Linked DNA regions of Homo sapiens: region 1 is linked to region 2. Evidence: promoter capture Hi-C in human tissues and cell types (Jung and others, 2019). All regions are on one chromosome and are shown on one strand. Each heading gives the region's core, a stretch centred on a gene start or on the middle of the fragment in contact. The rest is flanking DNA. Distances are from core to core; before and after follow the strand shown.

Region 1 (3,674 bases), core at 680-3,179, 340 kb after region 2:
CTGTTATTTTATTTTGATTTGTTTATTTTCTGTCTTTTCTCCACTACAGTGTAAATTCCTTGAGATTAAGGAGTTTTCCTTCCCAGTAGTACTTGGCATATAGTGCATGTTCAATGAATACTGTTGGATGAATTGAATAGATGAACTAATATCATGCACCCTGCTCCCCAAGGACTAATTACATTGTGTATAGCCACACTTACTGACCTCATCCTTGGAACTATGGTGCTGATTAAAAGGCATAGTACTGAATAATGAGATAACTTTGTGTTTCTTTGTCTCCACTGAATGACTTATTCTGGACCCTTTAGTGAGACATACATCTTTGAGAGTTCAGTTTTTCCATCTATAAATGGGAACAGTAACATATCAGAGAGACTACGTGAGACTTAACGTATATCACTTTGGGTTGTTTTTACATTAATGACCAATATAAATGCTATCTGGCATTATCATTGTTGTCTCACTGCGTTTACTATTAATAGTGATAATCTAGGAGTGATGACTTGAGTCTTCAAAGCTAGTTCCTTTTGTAGGAATCAGTACTTTCAAAGAAAACTTTTTTCAGATGACTTCATTTTAGGACCTATAGGCTTCTCTCTCCTTTTTATAGCATGGGAATAAAAGAGTAACTTACGGAGTGTTAAACACCTTGGCTAAATAAATTATAGAAAAATGTACCAGGAGGTCTCATAGCCAAATCGAAGTTAAAGTAGGCATACTGTTCAGTTTGTATGTCACCATACCATCTCTGAGGAAAGCATTTCTATCCTCAGTCCCTTCCATTCATTTGATGTGCCAATTCTTTGTTTTTTATTTGGTTATTGTATATTTCAGTTCTAAAATTTCCATTTGGTTCTCCTTCATATCTTCCATTCTGTGCTTAAACTTTCTATTCTGTTTGTTTCAAGCATGTTTCATAATTCCCTGCCGAAGCATTTTTATTATGGTTGCTTTAAAATCCTTGTTAGAAAAATGTCATCTCAGTGTTACTATTGATAGTATTTTCTTACCCAAGTTGAGATTTTTCTGATTCTTAGTATGATGAGTGCATTTTAATTTTATCCTGCATATTTTGGGTATTTTGTATGATACCTTGGATCTTATTTAAATCTTGTATTTTAGCAGGCCTCATCTGATACTGTATAGTTTGGGAAAAGATTAACCATTTTGTTAATGTCAGGTGCAAGTAAAATGACAAGTTTTCCACTCAGCCCCCTTTGACACCCTGGGTAGGAGGGATACTGCCTTACTCCTGAGATAAGGTGGGATTTCAGGGCTCCCACAGGCCTTAGCAGATACATCCCTGGCTGGGAGCAGGAGAGGCACCTTATTACTGTTCCACGGGTGCCTTACTGTGAGATTAGGTGAGATCTTCTTACCTCTGGATAGTTATAAAAGTTCTGGCTTCCCACTCAGCTTCCTCTGACACAGGAAAGGAGGGAGAGAGAGTCTTTTTCCTTTTGGATGGGGATAGAAGTCCTAAAACTGTCTTCACAACCACTTGGTTTTCTCTGATACCACATCGAGGTCATCTATGGGCACTGCATTGTTGCTGGGGCGAGAGTGGAAATCTAGGCTCAGTACTCGGCCTTTTGTGACAGAGGTGGTTTAAAAATAAAGGCGAAACTTGGAAATAAGGAAAAAGGTGAGCAGTGTGTCTTTTCAGTGTCCTATAGGGACATTGTTCAATAGGCCTACACTATGACTATTTAGAAGAAAGTATTTTGTTTGAGTCATTGTTTACTGTTGATTAAAAGTTTCAAAGTTAGGGCCATGCGTGTTTTTTTTTAAATTTTTTTTCCATGGTATTTGGTTGGTGTAGGATGTTTATTGTCTAAAAGTTTTCTGTCTTGCTAGATTGTGCCTTTCATGGATGGCCCTTTTGTTACAGAGGATTGACTTTTATTGGGGCTTTTGTGCCTGTTGGTGTTTCCTGGTTGCTGGCTATTCCACTCCCCAGTTTGGGATATATGAGGCTAAAAGAAAACTCACAGAACTCACTGCTTTGTCATTCCTTGGATTCCCAGGTCCCTAGTTAGTCTGCCTTCCCTCTGCATTCCAGAATCCTCTTAAATTTGTTTTAATAAAATGTCCAAACTTTTTAGCTCTATTTATTGATAGAAATAGGGAGAAGTGTGTCTTTTTAATTTTAATCTGGAAGTGGGATAGAAAGCAACCTTTTAAATTTTAGTTATTCTTTGTTGTAGCTACATCAGGAAATTGATATCAAAGTTAAAATACATTAATTTGAAACAGGTAACTTTGAGTCGGTTTTTTTTGGAGGTGGGGAAACAGGTTAATGAGCTCCCATGGAGTCATTCTAGATAGAGGAAGGATGCATAAAAATATATGGATAATTCGAAATGGGAGATAATACATAAATCTCTATATCTGCTTTATATTTACTAAGTTTGTGCATATTTATGTGTATGTGTTAGATATTCTGAAAGTGTATTTTCAACAAAAATATTTACATTGTACTGTAAATACCTGATTCAGGAAGAATTTAGAAATCTTAGGCTTCCGTATTTGACCTTTCTGCAATCCAGTTCTTTCTGAGGGTTATGGACTTCTTTCAAACTAACACAAAGTCGTTTCTACCTAATAATTTCTTAGGAATAAGAGATGTGATTAAATTTGTGAGTGTCAAAGGAGGCTACTGTATGTTAAATATGTATAGGATGAAATATTAGCAAAGTAAGTTTTTAAATAGTGATATGGTTTGGCTGTGTCCCCACTCAAATCTTATCTTGAATTGTAGTTTTCATAATTCCCACATGTTGTGGGAGGGACCTGGTGGCAGATAATTGAATCATGGGGATGTGTCTTTCTTGTGCTATTCTTGTGATAGTAAATGTCTCACGAGATCTGATGGTTTTATAAAGGGAAGTTTCCCTGTGCAAGTTCTCTTCTCTTGTCTGCTGCCATGTGAGACGTGCCTTTCACTTTCCGTCATGATTGTCAGGCCTCCTCAGCCAAGTGGAACTGTGAATCCATTAAACCTCTTTCTTTTATAAGTTGCCTAGTCTCGGGTATGTCTTTATCAGCAGTGTGAAAACGGACTAATACAAACAGTGAATATATATTAAATTTCTTGTTTGGATTTATGGTCTGCCAGTCATCCTTTAGATAATTGAATCTTATTTATGACATATTTTCTGTAGAATATGGCAATTTTTTAATATCAAGGTATCTAACATACAGGTCTTTTAAATGTCTGTGAAGCTTAATGAAATGAAAAGAGTTATTTATGATGACAGGAACAATATACTGGTGCCTGCATCTCTGTGGTATCCTAAATAAAGCAAAACATTTAGGAGTCCAGTAAGATATTGCTAGATTAAATTAGCTGAGAAGTTCTTTCTCCTTAAGAAATGTTAGTATGTGTATGTATTTATAAAAATAGTATGTGTAGTCTGGAAAATGTGGACAATATAGAAAAAGGAAAACAAAATTTATAGCTATTTCTCACCATGAAAATTCTAAATATTTTCACCTGATTTCAGAATACTGGGCTCTGAGTTTTCAGTTTTGGAAAATCTACTCCTCTACTTAGGCCAGGTTTTGGATGTATCTGTCAGAATTTTTGTCTGACAAGAGAAAGAGTAATTAATAAATGGAATGTTTGTAAAACCTTTAAACAAACTTTTAAAAAACAACATTAATGATTA
Region 2 (3,152 bases), core at 401-2,900:
ACGGCCCTTTTCACTCATGGTCGGGAGTCTAACCCATCCTTTCTCTGATACCCTACCTGCTTGTCCCCTCCCCCTCAAAAGTCCCAGGTTACAGATTCTTGGAAGACTGTATCCGAGTCGCTGCAGCCAGCGGACAGATGCAGTGGAACTATGGTTATGTGCTGCTCTGCCTGGGAGAAGCGACGGGAAAGCCGAGGTTCTTTCCAAAGCTAATGGGCGGGGAAGAAAGACTGCTCGGAATTACTGGGTAGTATCATCTAGGAAAGGATTGCAGCGGGAGTGGATACCCTCCCCAGGGCTCCTCTAACTTTTTGAAAAGAGCGCGAGTGGACTGGGAACCATTCAAGGGATATTTGTCTTCTAGGCAATCCTGCTGGTAGGGTTCATTAGTTTCTAGAAGGCTAGTGTGATTTAGATTCTTGAGATGATTCAAGGAATGTGGCCTTTATCAAGCCCGACTTTCCGGGTGATGCTCCACATATTTTACCCAGGGTGGGAGAAATAGCACGCTGTCACCGAGACCCTCGCTCATCGGGGCTCCCACTGGTTCACTGCAGCTAGCTAGCAGTTAAAGTTTACTGCTTAGGTTGGGTGGGGGGGCATATTTTCTTAGAAGCTCCTGCCTTCCTCAGTTCATTACTGTAAACCCCGTACCTTAAAAGACTCGGCTTCTTCTCACTAACAAAGAAAAAAAGCAAAACAAAACCAAAACACACACACGCACACACACACACTCTCTCTCTGGGAATTTCCACAACTTCCCTTGAATGTGTAAGGATTTCTAAATGTTAGACTTGTTTGGATAGTATGAAAGGACAAAGTATCAGCACTCAGAAATGTCAACCTTTGAACCTCGAACACTTTCTGATTTATAAAAAGAATCCTTCCAAAAAGATGCAGGAGCCCTAATGTAATCGTTAGATCTGAAGGGGGAAATCTGTAAAAAAAAAAAAAAAAAAAAAAAAAAAGTCAATCACAAATGAGCCATTTAATACTTGCAAGTTGTTTAACATTGAAATGATAATATTTGCTTCCACAATAAAAAGTCCAAGGTACCTAGCCAAGTTTCAAACTATCCAGGCTTTAAAAAGTCAACCCTTCTCCCAATAGAAGGTTAAAACAAAAATCAGATTGAAATTATCAAATCACTTATGTTGTAAATAAATTCACTTTACTTTCAGAACATTATAAATTAAGGACTGGCATCAATAGACTGCTTTGATTTATGTTGCTTTTTCTACTAATTAAACAAAATTAACCCCCCACTCCTTCCCTCCTTTCTTTTTCCCCACACACTTTTCTGGTGTTAATGGCAAAACATCTATCAAATATTTTTAGAATTTCCTCTCCTCCACAAAAAGAGAAAATATAGACACAGGAAAAATAAATAGTCTTTATATACTCGGAATACCAAAGTTCCCTCCTAATTTATTACTTCACCTTTTCCTTGATTTACAATCTTCTCTCTGCTCTTCTGGCTGAAAGAGGGAAATCTTCTCAGCAGTCTTTTCCAGAAATATTTTTTGTTGTTCTTCAGAAAACATAAAATTAAATCTTAAAATGAATTAAAAGCTTCTTGAAAGGAGACTTCTGTTCCCACTAAAGGCAATTATTAGAAAGCAGGTACCTCTTCCAAGCTGCCCTGTTTATTACTTTCCGTAGAAATTCTCCTCAATATATACCCAGGACCCTGACTTTTTGCCTGTTTTGGAAAGGATATTTTCTGACATCATAATCTAGTTCCTAACATAACTGAGTAATCTCCATCATAATAATGCAGAGGATGCATGACTGCAAATGAGACACAGCAAGAGCACCCCCTACCACCTCCCTCCCCCCCCCGTCCCCCCAGCCCACACACACACCTTTTTTCTAAGGTTTAGAAATAGAACAAGTGCCAATAGAAGCTAAATGTTTGCTTAGGCCTTGCTGTCATGTAAATGCACCTTAGCAAATGGGAAGGCCTGCCTCTAATCTGAAGTATTTCCATGTTTAGCATTATAAGATCTACACCTACACAAATGCCTAGCCCATGAGCACCAGGCTTCCATCTTCCCATCCCCAGTGGCAGTTTATTACAGTATATCAAATTTTAAAAGAGGTTGAAAAAATTTTAAATGCATTACTCTTAAATTCAGTTGAATACCCAGTTAATGTATATCTCCTGTCATAGCTTAGAAAAAAGTAAATAGCATTTATGCTTAGCCTCTTCATCCTTCTTTCTTCTTTCCTCCTTAACCCAAACAGCAAACAGATATACATTATAAACCAAATATGAATCTATAGCACTTTAAACAGTGCACCTGGGCTTGGGAATTCTCTTATTACCAATAAGCATCCAGATTTCACATTTACCAATCTGTAGCTGCAAGCTATGTCTCTAAAATCCCCTGGAACCAAACAACTAAACTCATCCCATCTCTTCTCCAAACTTTTTTCAATGTTTACAAAGAGACGTTGCATAATCAGCTCAAGTAATGCTCTCATTGGATTCCATTAGAATGTGGCTCTCATCGCTCGCCTGGACTGAGACTTGAGAGGAGGCTGTTGCCAGCTGACCTCAAGGTAGCAAAAAAGAAAAAAAGATGTAATGCCTTCAAACCCCAAGTAACAATAGGAAAGGGTGTGTTTCTTTATTAAATCTTTTTGTAGTTAGGTGAGGATAAGACTTCTCCAGGAACAGGGCGGGCTGCTAACCTCTGGAGGAACTGCCTCAGGGAGGAGTGTATAGATATGCATCAAGCTGATGGGATCCTCCCATGGGAAAAGTGGGCCTCACACCCTTCCTCACCCTTCCCTACTTCCTGGGCAATGTTCTGCTTCCCCCAAACTGAAGCAGGAGGCCCAGAGAGGAGGCGGTTTCCTGGGAGGAACCCAAACCAATGTGAGATGAGAAGGTCTTTAGGAAATGGGGGTCTCTGAGAACCGGTTCTTAAAGGTCAAGCACTTGAGCACCTCGCAAACTCCTGACAATTGAAACATATCTGAAGAGTCTTCTTCAGATATGTCTCTGTGTGTGTGTGTGTGTGTGTGTGTGTGTGTGTGTGAGAGAGAGAGAGAGAGAGAGAGAGAGAGAATATGAATGTGCAGTGTCCCAGTCCTGATCTCCTGGACTGGTGCCAGCCAGCCAGATGCCTGCCCTTGGCTGGCCA

What was found. Contacts are between HindIII fragments. The study calls those that stand out against the background at their distance.
Region 1: a contact is called between a fragment that was not itself captured here and the fragment with the promoter of PTHLH in region 2, in 1 of the 25 tissues and cell types used here (IMR-90 fibroblasts).

The regions. Positions count from the first base shown.
Region 1 is chr12:28,309,924-28,313,597 of GRCh38, forward strand. All of the region lies in intron 6 of CCDC91 (coiled-coil domain containing 91), which reads left to right. Among named protein-coding and RNA genes, the nearest start is that of CCDC91, 120 kb to the left of the region's middle. RefSeq lists an enhancer at 3,219-3,388. The HindIII fragment of the contact is 7,107 bases long and covers 1-3,674 here.
Region 2 is chr12:27,971,083-27,974,234 of GRCh38, forward strand. PTHLH (parathyroid hormone like hormone) reads right to left here and starts at 1,651. Exons shown (of 6, transcript NM_198965.2): 1 at 1,441-1,651; 2 at 845-937. The HindIII fragment of the contact is 6,422 bases long and covers 1-3,152 here.